Linked DNA regions of Homo sapiens: all the other regions are linked to region 2. The links are contacts of gene promoters, found by promoter capture Hi-C in blood cells and fetal thymus (Javierre and others, 2016). All regions are on one chromosome and are shown on one strand. Each heading gives the region's core, a stretch centred on a gene start or on the middle of the fragment in contact. The rest is flanking DNA. Distances are from core to core; before and after follow the strand shown. Region 1 overlaps FAM167A-AS1 (FAM167A antisense RNA 1). Region 2 holds the start of NEIL2 (nei like DNA glycosylase 2). Region 3 overlaps MTMR9 (myotubularin related protein 9). Region 4 overlaps FAM167A (family with sequence similarity 167 member A).

Evidence for each region. The method cuts DNA at HindIII sites, captures the fragments that hold promoters and counts their contacts. A CHiCAGO score of 5 or more calls a contact.
Region 1: a fragment that was not itself captured here is called in contact with the fragment with the promoter of NEIL2 in region 2 in 1 of 17 cell types (naive B cells); the score reaches 6.0 in naive B cells.
Region 3: a contact is called between a fragment that was not itself captured here and the fragment with the promoter of NEIL2 in region 2, in 1 of 17 cell types (total B cells). The highest score is 6.9, in total B cells.
Region 4: a contact is called between a fragment that was not itself captured here and the fragment with the promoter of NEIL2 in region 2, in 1 of 17 cell types (naive B cells). The highest score is 5.2, in naive B cells.

The regions. Positions count from the first base shown.
Region 1 is chr8:11,385,928-11,388,627 of GRCh38, reverse strand. The region is part of intron 2 of FAM167A-AS1 (FAM167A antisense RNA 1); the gene reads right to left. Among named protein-coding and RNA genes, the nearest start is that of FAM167A-AS1, 19 kb to the right of the region's middle. The HindIII fragment of the contact is 1,611 bases long and covers 545-2,155 here.
Region 2 is chr8:11,768,401-11,771,100 of GRCh38, reverse strand. NEIL2 (nei like DNA glycosylase 2) reads right to left here and starts at 1,391. Exons shown (of 5, transcript NM_145043.4): 1 at 766-1,391. LOC124901888 (a long non-coding RNA gene) reads left to right here. Exons shown (of 2, transcript XR_007060824.1): 1 at 1-223; 2 at 693-2,299. RefSeq lists silencers at 1,001-1,130, 1,171-1,580 and an enhancer at 741-1,241. The HindIII fragment of the contact is 12,492 bases long and covers 807-2,700 here.
Region 3 is chr8:11,303,326-11,306,025 of GRCh38, reverse strand. MTMR9 (myotubularin related protein 9) reads right to left here. Exons shown (of 10, transcript NM_015458.4): 4 at 1,012-1,185. Among named protein-coding and RNA genes, the nearest start is that of MTMR9, 20 kb to the right of the region's middle. The HindIII fragment of the contact is 958 bases long and covers 875-1,832 here.
Region 4 is chr8:11,434,629-11,437,328 of GRCh38, reverse strand. The region is part of intron 2 of FAM167A (family with sequence similarity 167 member A); the gene reads left to right. FAM167A-AS1 (FAM167A antisense RNA 1) reads right to left here. Exons shown (of 7, transcript NR_026814.1): 5 at 2,227-2,499. Among named protein-coding and RNA genes, the nearest start is that of FAM167A, 31 kb to the left of the region's middle. RefSeq lists enhancers at 388-907, 908-1,427. The HindIII fragment of the contact is 317 bases long and covers 1,272-1,588 here.

The DNA.
Region 1 (2,700 bases), core at 101-2,600, 380 kb after region 2:
AGGTGCACGACCCACCCTGTTTTCCTCTGGCACGAGCACTGCTGGCTTGTCAAAGACTGCCCTGCTCTCAGGCCTGCTGCCCTGGGCAGGTGGTGGGAGTGAGATGGCAAGCTTGTACCCTCACACTAGAGCTGTCGCCCTTTAGGTGGACATCCTTTAGCATCGTGGTTCTTTATCCTTTGGGGTGGAAGGGGACCCTTTGAGAATCTGATGAAAAGACAGCACCCTCTCCTCTAAAAAAAAAAAAATGTAACATCTAGTGTGCAGTTGGGCGTTTGGATTTTAAAAGTTGGCAAAAGGCCTTTGATTCCCTGGAGGAAGAGGAGTGGGAATTGGGAGAAATGTTACCTGAGGTTCGACACTGAGGAGGAGAGAAAGGCAGGGTGCATGATCTCTCTAAGAGTGCCCAGGGAATGAAGAAAGGACACCACGTCCCTGAACAATAGACTCAGGCATTAGGAGAGCATTTTCAGGTGGTCCTGGCTTGATCACCCAGCTGGGGAAGATCACGGTGGGGGTTCAGTAAGATTATTCACAAGAAGCTTTGGGAATAACATGGAAGTATCTTCTTACCTCTTTTCTCTGTGGGTTTTAGTAAATAATTTTAAAGCACCATGATGGAATCTGTGCATGGCCGTCAGGATGCCGGACAACTTTCAAAGACGGCTGCTGTGACAGACACTGAGGTGGCATTTGTTGGGAGTGCATTTCTCCAGCTTCTCTAGGTATTCTGATATCTTGATTCCCACAGACTTAAGTCCAAGTCAGCTATTCCCAAGCAGTGGAGGTAGATAGGGTATCAGTACCTTGTCAAGAATAAAAGCCCTTGGTGAGCTAATAACTGGATTGACTCATTTCCCCAGGCAGGTAGCTTCATGAATGAGAGCCCAGCAACCTGTCGCCAAGGTTGGTTGGGCAGGAAAAAATGCATCCAGTCTCTGCAGCATCTGTCCTGGGAAGGGCCAGCCCTCTTGAGCTCTGAGTGTGTTTTTTTCATGTTGGTTATATCAGGTTCCTTGAGAGGCAAAAGTGAAAGGCAACTCTTGGGTCCTGGCTTCCTTGAGGAGGCTGGGGTGCCACTCCGTCCATCCAGACTTCAAATGGACCCACACTGATGTACATCTGCTCTGTTTCACTGGCACTGTTTCATTTCTGTCTCACAACAATCCTCTAAAACCAATACGACCCTACACAATTTTCATAGAAGATGAAATGCTTGTTTTCCTGGCATCTGGTTCAGTAATGAAAATGTGTTTTGAATGGAGGTGAGCAAACAGGGCTATCAGGAGAGCATCCAGTCCAATGGGCGGCAGGTGTGCAAACAATGACAACAGGTCTTCTTTCTTGGGAAGAAAGGTGCATGTGGATCTGGGGCCTCTGAGCAGGGGTGGCAAGATGGGATTTGCTATGTAAGAGATACGCTTGGACAAGTTCCCATGAGAAACATGGGGAGCTCCTCCTTTGTGAACGGAAGCCTCTCCCAAAACGTTTGATAATTACTGCTTTAGCAAAAGAAATGCTTTTTCCTTGAAAAACAAAAGCTCAGGCACAGTTGGGTTTCTCTCTCACTATTGCTCCTTGCATAGCTCCAACTACCATATTAATTTTTTTAACTCATACAGATTTATCTTAACCATATTAATTTTCATTACTAGCCAAAATGTCTTCTACTTCACAGAGAAAAATGGTGGGTAGAGAAGTGAGAACTGTTTATCTTAGACAAAGATTTCAGCAGAATAGCAAAGTTCATAACCAACCTTCTATAGCCACACACATTCCTTTTACGCCTTCTGAAAGTTCAAAAATGAGCAGTCATGCATCTGATCCCAAGATACAGCCTCTCTAAAGCACAACAAATAAAAAGCAATTGCATATAAACCTAAAATTATGTTGCATAATCAATGTTTTGTCATTTGATAGTATTTAGAGGTCATCTAACTATACAGTGATTATCCATTAACTCAACTTAATATCAGCCCCAAATTCTAAGTCATCTAAACACCTAGAAAAGTATCTTCCAGCTACAAAATATAATTGCTGTTGAAAGAAAAAGTTTGTCACCATAACGAATGAATTTAGTTGAGCACAAATTTCCTGGTTTAATGATCCTCAACATTATGTAACATTAAGTAATCGCTTATTTGATGAGTAAGCTTGTACGAGTTTAGGAAAGACAAACCAAATAAAATGCATGCTTGTGTTATATACATCGATAAATAGGAGAAGTAACGTGGCAATTTTTTAATCAAAATTATTATTAATAATATTTTGAGACAGAGTCTTGCTCTGTTACACAGGCTGGAGTGCAGTGGCACGACCTCAGCTCACTGCAACCTCCGCCTCCTGGGTTCAAGTGATTCTCCTGCCTCAGCCTCCCGAGTAACTGGGATTACAGGTGCGCACCACCACGCCTGGCTAATTTTTGTATTTGTAATAGATACAGGGTTTCACCATGTTGGCCAGGCTGGTCTCCAACTCCTGACCTCAGATGATCCACCCGCCTTGGCCTCCCAAAGTGCTGGGATTACAGGCGTTAGCCCCCACACAGCCTGAATCAAAATTATTAAACTAGTCTAGTTTGCCAAAGATTAATCTTAATTATGTGAACTTGGTTTCTGAATTGGTATTAGAAATTCAATTTTCTTATTTTCTGGGAATTTTAGAAATATTCAGTTTATATGAGCAATTGCTGAGTTGTAT
Region 2 (2,700 bases), core at 142-2,641:
CCTGGACTGTGAACCTCTAACACCTCCTGACTTTCTCTGTCCCCCTGCTCCCGCTCTCAAAAAACAGCCATTCTGACCCACTGCTGCCGACTTATTTCCCACTTTTGAAGGGACCAGATGCCGCCCTCCAGGACCGCCGACCACTAGCGTGGGGGAGGTGTGCATGAAACGACCAACACGCAGACAGAGCTCAGAATCATAAGTGAGACCCCCAGCCACGTAGGTAAGCCCGGCATAGCTACAGACAGTTATCTCTGATCCCCGAGAAACAGCTGTGGTTCTGTTCTAATCACCACGCAGGGCTCCCAGGGCCACCTCTACTCTCCCTGCCCCCAAATCATCCCAGTCCACTGACAGCCGCCTACATGAGGCAGTCTGAGTGGTGTACACCCGGGCTGTTCGGGCAGAGGAGACTCCCAGCCTCACCCGGGGCAGCTGCCTAACCACCTGTTCCTGCACCAGCCTCTCTATAAGTTATGATGAAAATCGAAAAGAACTAAGTAGATATCGGGCAGGGGGTAGCTATTATATTTCAGTGATTCTAAAAAACATTTTAGAATACTTTTAAAATCTAAGAAATGGTGACGGCTCACAATCTCGGCATTCTCATATTCGGCAGCAGCACATTCAATAACGCGCATCTTACACTCGCTGGTGCCGATTCGCTGAGATGTACTATTTCCCCTCATCAGGCTTTCCAGACACTCCCCAGGGAATCCTGACAAAACCGCCAGGCTGGAAGGAGACGTGCCAAACGCTGCTGACCTTAACCAGTTGGATGCCTGATCCTCTTCTACGGGGAAGCTTCTGGAAAAGCCTTCATCTGAAATGCACCAAGTCCTGAAAATCTCCGGACACGTGGGCATGTTTCGTTTAGGGATTTTTATGGAGATGGACAGGTGGGAAGCAAGCCGCCTCTGCAACAGCCTTGAAAGATGAGACGCGGAAGGGACTTCGAAGAGTCGCTGAAGATGCCGCGCCCACCCTCCGGCCCTCCCTGCCCGGGGGCTACCGAGGAGCTCGAGGCTGGCGCTGCGCCAGCCAGGGAAGAGGAGGGGTTGTCTCCGCCGTTCTCTTCCGAGTGCCCGAGGTGGGGGGTCTAAGACCACTGCTTTCCCAACTCTGCCTCGGGGTGCGGGGAGAGGGGCGCAGACGCGGGTCTGAGGGTCAGTGGGGGCCTCCAGGCGTGGGCAGCACCTCCGCAGGCGGCTGAGACGGAGGAGGGCCCGGGGCCCGCCCTCCCTTCCTGTCCCCTCCCGACTTCTCCGCCAGGCCGCAGATCTACCGGAGGGCGGGCGGCTGCACTCACCGGCTCCGGGTGGGTGGCACGTCGGCCCGACCCAGCACCGCTACGCAGCCCGCACAGCCGCTCCAGCTGGGGGCGGAGATTTCCCGGCTCGGCGGCCCATGCGGCCTCCGTCCCCTTAGGGGACGCCCCTGTAGGTGGAGGCTGCGGGGCTCCTCCCCCAAGTGGGCGTGGACTCCGGCCTGGAGGGGGTGGCGGGGTGCGCGCAGGCGCAGGGCTCATTCCCTGGAAAGTGGGTCTAGGTCGAGGCTGCTCTTTTGTGGGTGGGCGAGGGGTTCCATCCCGGGGGTCGCTGGAGGCAGGGCTGCATTAGAGGGTCGCGAGTGAAAGCAGGGATGGAAGAAGGGTGCAGGCTGGGACTAACATTGGAGAGACGCTCTTGGAAACTTTTTTTTTTTGCGGGGGGAGATAGTCTCGCTGTGTCACCCAGGCTGGAGTGCAGTGGCGCGATCTCGGCTCACTGCAACCTCCGCCTCCTGGGCTTAAGCCATTCTCCTGCCTCAGCCTCCCGAGTAGCTGGGATTACTGGCGCCCGGCTAATTTTTGTATTTTTAGTAGAGACCGGGTTTCACCATGTTGGCCAGGCTGGTCTTGAACTCCTGATCTCAGGTGAGCCGCCCTCCTCGGCCTCCCAAAGTGGTGGGATTACAGGCGTGAGCCACCGCACCCGGCCCTTTTGGAACATTTCTTGTCTCAAGGAGACAGTTATAGGGAAAAGTCAATGGGTGTGTGAATGGGACAGCCTGGGTGTTCCCACAATGGCAAGCCTTTCTGTGGGTTCTGCTTGGCCTCCGAGCCTAATGAAGTCGGGTGCAAAGGAAACAGGTGTTCAAGACTCGTGAAATGTTGAACGGGTGGGATTTTTTTGCTTTCTATTATTTGAATTTTATTACTTGAATTTTTACTATAAGCAAATTTTGCTTAAAGTATTTGTGTATTAAATTTTTTATTTCATAGAATAAAAGAGATAAAACAATAGGCTGTTTAAAGATACATATGTTTTCTTGTCTTTAGTTCTCGAAGGAGGATGGGGAGCCAGCACTTTCCAGGAAGTTGGGAGGAAAGTCTGGGGAACTCCCCAGCAGGTGTTCAGGAAATAGGCTGGGGTGAAGTCACCATGGACCCTAGCTGAGGGGTCCCTGGGGAAGGACTTGGTCAGCACAGGGAAACAAGCCCAGCCCACCGTCAGAGACATGGTTGTGTCCTACTGATTGAGAGGGAGGTTACAAGTGGCCTTCCCACAGTGGTCACCTACTGAACAGGCTAGGGCAGGAGGTGAGGAGAGGGAGGCCTGGGGAGGCCTAGGGTATAGGGTCCTCATCTAGAAAGGCATCTGGAGGCAGAGGGGATGAGGTTGGAGGGCATGGGGTTTGCAGGAGGCATCCCTTGAAGAG
Region 3 (2,700 bases), core at 104-2,603, 470 kb after region 2:
TAATAACTATAAAAGATAAGCCTTAAGCTTTTACACAATTTCTCTGTCTCAAAATACTGTCACATAATAAATTATATCTCCTCTTTAAGATCAAATATTGCAATTCATTTAGTGTGTGAATCAAATACCTGTAGACCTGGACCTGTAATAAAGACAATAATGGCCTATGAGCCAGTAAACCTTGACTTCAACTAAACATACATAGAGTTGGCAGGTTTTAACAACAATTATAAGAAGTAAAGGCACCAGTGGCAAAATTTAAAAGTTCAAACACTGTTCTCATTGTTTGGGAAATCATTTTCACTACCTCAGAAGCTGACTGTCTATTATGTATTCTCCAGTGGCCTCTACCATCCTTTTCAGTATTCAAGGATTTAACTACTTGTTTCTAAAAACTACCCCACCAACTATACATCTGGAAATGTTTGCTTTTGAAACTTTTCTCTAGAAATCAATGTCTATTATACTAATCTCTTCCCTGGCGAATGGTTTAGAGTTCTTTCAAGACGCCACCATTACAAGGTAGTTATCTTAACTCCTTGTTTAATCCTGACTCCAGTGTTTACTAGAGTTGTGACTAAATGACATGAGCATCACTCTTTTCACCTTTGAAAATAAATACGTCTGCTCCACCTTTCACGTGTAAAGTTGTTAAGAAAAATTCAAGTATTTTACCATTATTCTGAACAGAGAAATTTCTCATTTTTCTACCAGAAGAATGTTGCTGTAAGCATCAAATAAACACTAGTTTCCTTTGTATAGTGTCCTGGAGATAAAGCTATCAGGGCTTTTATACGGCTGAGCAGGATCATGGAAAGAATTCAGCATCACATCCTCACCACAGAAAACACCCTACTCCTGATTCCCTAAAGCTTACATGAAGGAAGCCCTTGTGGTGGAGACCTGGACAATCATTTCAGTGAACAGACAGAGAGCAAAAGGGAACATTTCTACGAAAAGATCCCCAACCCAAGCCTTTCAGTACATCAAGCAGTAGTGCTGTGCACTTACCATCCCATTTTTTTTGTGGTAATAGCTTAGTACTGGGAAGCGCCCTCCATGTCGAAATGTAGCTACCTTCCGAAGAGCTTCATCATCGATGGATTTGGGCACTGTGACAATTGGTGGGTAAGAGGGACAGACAGCAAATTCCTTATTGACATAGCTTAGCCTCCATTCACTGGTCTGAAAAACACAAAATACTTCAAAGCTAAGCAACTATCTCAATGTCGCAAAATAATCTGAGAAATTTTAAAAGACCTTAGAGGTCAACTTTCACTGATGAAGAAGCCATTTCTCAGGAATTTCACAGGTGGATCTCTAGCTTATATGTAAGTAGCTGCAGAGAAAAGGAGCTCTATGGTTCAGGGCCAGCTTCCTGCATTGCTAGGTATCACCAGTTCCCAGAAAGTGCTTTCTCACACTGAGCAAAACTTGTTGCTCTGTAGCTCCCTCTATTGGTTTTTACTGTACTTTCAGACAACACCGTACAAGTTCCCTATTTTACACGGTATCCCATCAAATGTTTGAAAGACAGCTGATCCTCCTTAGTGTTCTATTCTCCAAGTTAAATATATTAAGCACATCCACAATTATCACGGCCAACATCATCCTACTTCTTCCTTTTCTGGGTCCCATTTAGTTTGTTAATGATCCTCTTAAAGCACAAGTAAGACTGTACGACTCCAGATAATGCATCCCCAGAACAAATGAGAACACAGCTACTATCTATATCAAACCCTTTGTTTATTTTAAAAAAGGTAAAAAATGTACTAAGATTGGTAACACCTTTCTTAAAACAGTACCAACTCAATACTAAGGAAGGTTAAGCTTAGGAGTCAATGAAATAATTTCAAACTGAGTAAGGACTAGAAGTATACAATATAAAACTATCAAATGACAACTTATTTTAAACATCAGAATTAAAAACAGCTTGAACACTGTCAAAAGGTTTTACAGTAAAAAAAAAAAATCAAATTATATGTAAATTTCAATATGTTCTGTATATCTGAGTTGGCCTAACCATGGGTTACAATAGCAGGAAGATAAAGCTAAAAAGTATGTTAGACGTACTAACAGACAAGATTATTACTTTTAAAAAATGCTTTTATAAGATACAGTATCACATTTTTAATTAAATTTTTTCACTTTTCAAAGTTATTTATGTTACCAGTTTAAAAACATAGTTTCTAGGCTGGGCACAGTGGTTCACACCTATCATCCCGGCACTTTGGGAGGCCAAGGCAGGCAAATTGCTTGAGTTCAGGAGTTCAAGACCAGCCAGGGCAACATGGCCAAACCCCATATCCACTAAAAATGCAAAAATTAGCCAGGCACAGTGGCACACACTTGTATTTCCAGCTACTTAGGATGCTGAGGTGAAAGAATCACGGGAGCCCAGGAAGTCGAGGCCACAGTGAGCTGTGACAGCGCCACTGCACTCCAGCCTGGGCAACTGGAGTGAGATTGTTTCAAAAAATAATTAATTAATTAATTTAAAAAAAACACAGTTTCTAAAGATTTATTATTTTTAAAAAAATGTAGTTATCTGTTCCTTGCTAGCCCATCCCAATTTGCTTTCCCCAAAGGCAATCATTTTCAACATTTTTAGCTTTTTCAGTGTTTACCTTTACATTTCTAAACAACATGATAATACTGTTATTTCTTGAACTTTCACTATGATATATTATTATTGATTTC
Region 4 (2,700 bases), core at 181-2,680, 330 kb after region 2:
CACGCCTCACATCATTCAGTAGCCACAGCAATCTTTCCGGGTAGGCACGATTACTATCCCCATTTCACAGATGAGAAAACTGAGGTTAAAAAACTTGCCCAAGATCAATCAGCAGAGCAGGAATTTGAACTCAGATCTGCCCGACCTCAAAGCCCTGCAGTGGGTCTGGATTCACCCACCATGCTATAGGAAACTGTGAGGCCCCTGGCAGCTGAAGCCCAAAGCATGTTCTTCCCAAGAAGACAGGTACCCGAGTAATGGAGTATGAAGTGACTTTGGAGAACAAAACAGCCTCAAACTTGCCTGGAGGCTGGGGCAGAAAATAGATTTGCCTCACTTCCCTTTGGAGGCGCAGGCAGGAATCTATAGCAACTGCAGGTGCCTGGGAGCCCTATTTAATCCCACAGGTCCCCACTCCAGCAGCTCATGTCCTGTCCTCAGCTCTCCCTCCCTTGAGGTTAGCAGCCTACTGACACCTTCCTAGCTGGTTCTCGCTCAGCATCAGATGTGAAGCTCCCGCTACATCTGTTTCCAAAGCAGGGGATAGAGAACCCAAGAAAAGCCCAGAAATCCCAACAGTTGTGCCCCAGGGGTCTTCTGAGGGCTCTCAGGTGACCCCAGGGCACTTCGGCACTCCATTTCCATAGGACAGTTATCACCTTGGCTAAAGCTTCCAGTTTCATGTAATGCAAGCCCCAATTCCTGCCTGCAGATGGGGGAGGCCTTCCTGCAGGTGGAATTGAGAAGGCCGTGCAGGGGAGCTCCTGTCGGAGCAGGGAGACAGCCCCTGCTAGGGGGTGTCTTCTCTCCCTCCGCCGACTGGCCCAGAGACCCCCAGCAGCATGGCCGAGCTCACAGAGGTGAGGGAGCCAGCCCTTCCTGCAGGTCTTGCCGGGGGCCCAGCAAGAACAGCCGTACCTGGGCCATGCTCGCAGCCTGGCAGGGGCAGCAGTCCTGGGACTGGCTGCTTGGCCTCACGAGGGCCCCCACTTGCTCTCCAGGGGAGTGGCAGGGAAGTTGAGGAAGGCCTTGGCCCCTAGTGGCGGGCCTGGCCCTCCTCATGTGCAAGCTAAGGACACCCCTGAGTGGGAGGGTCCCCACCGCATCTCCAGTCTGAAGTGTATTGGCATTACCAGCCCTTTGACGTTGGCAACACTTGGTGATAGAGACAATAACACAGCCCTACCCAACCCCGGACCATGCTTGGTGACGTGTGACAGGCAGTACAGTTGTCAGCGATAAGGGAGCGCTCAGTAAAGGTGGGTGAAGCTTGGGCTGGGGACCCGCCCTGAGCCAGGCTGTGAGGAGCAAAAAAGGCTCTGGCAGGGACCCGGCACCCAGGAGCTGGGGCAAGCGCCACATGGGAAGTAAAAACGTAACTGAATGGTTTGCTCTGTGGTTCTGTGTATGAAGACGGGATATGGTGGAACTAGTAATTCCGGAACTCGATGTCCTGTACAAAGTGTGTGGATATGGGCTTATTTAATTCTCATAAATGATCAGTAGTGTGTGCCCATTTAATTACGGTCAATTATTATCAGTAAGTGGGTACTATTATGCTCATGTAGCAGATGAGGAAATTGAAGCTTAGGTGTGGGGTGACTTGCCCAGGGTGGCGTCACCAGCAAGTTGAAGAGAAGGACTTTGAACCAGGGGCTGCTCCTCTGTCCTTTCTACTGGCTGCCTCTCCACAGGCCTGGGGGCAGTGGGAGATCCCAGAGGGTGGCGGTCAGCCCGGGTAGCAGAGGGAGGAGTGAGGTCTCCAGGACTGTCCCAGCCGTGGAGACAGGTACTGGGTAATGTAGTGTGGAAAATCAAGACTTGGCTCTGGGGAAATTTAACTAACGGATTGATTCATTGATTCATTCATCTAACAAATGGCTTTTGAGCACCAGAGCATGCCCTAGGCACTGTGGTGGCCCCAGTCTCTGTCTCTCCTCTGGTGTTTTGTCATCTAGACACATGATAAAAAATGAAACCAATGCCCAACACGTGGGTGCCATGGTGGAGGCCGCATGGAGGGGCAGTGGTAGCAGGCGCCCATGGGGCTGTCATCCCCTCTGCAGGGAGAGGGACAAAGGCTGAGCTGGTCCTGAAGGGTGACAGGTGGAGAAGGGACCACAGGGGAGGGGACAGAACCTCAGTGTGGCTGCCCTGTGGGGGCAAGGGCATCAGAGTGGGAGAGGAGGCTGGAGAGGTCAAGGGAACAGGAGGGTCCCGTGATACCTTTGAAAGATTTGAAGAAGCAGGGAGACCTGCCCATCAGCCTCTTGAGTGGAGACAGATTGAGTGAGGGGGGGAGGCAGGCAGGGAGGAGGCCCAGATGCTGGGAGCTGAGGTGCAGAGGACCCAAATGCAGGGGTGGGTGCCAGTGATGCTGTCCTCTGGGCCTGTCCTCACCCAGCCAGCAGCAGTCACATCTCTCCCACTCTCTCTCCGGCACAGAATGTCTTCCTTGGGTGTACAGCTTCCAGAACCTCCTCAGTTCCAAGATGCAATCTGATGGGAGGGGAGGAAGGTGATCAGCATCCTCTCTCTGTGTAGGGCACATGCCACCTGTCCAGAGTCATCATGTCATCAGAGGCTGCACTAGGACTGGAACCCAGAGCCCCTAGTGGCAGATCTAGGGGCTCTTCGGAATGCATCACTCTGTCCTTCCCAAAGGCCAGCCTCACCCCTGAAGGTGTGTAGTTTGGCCCA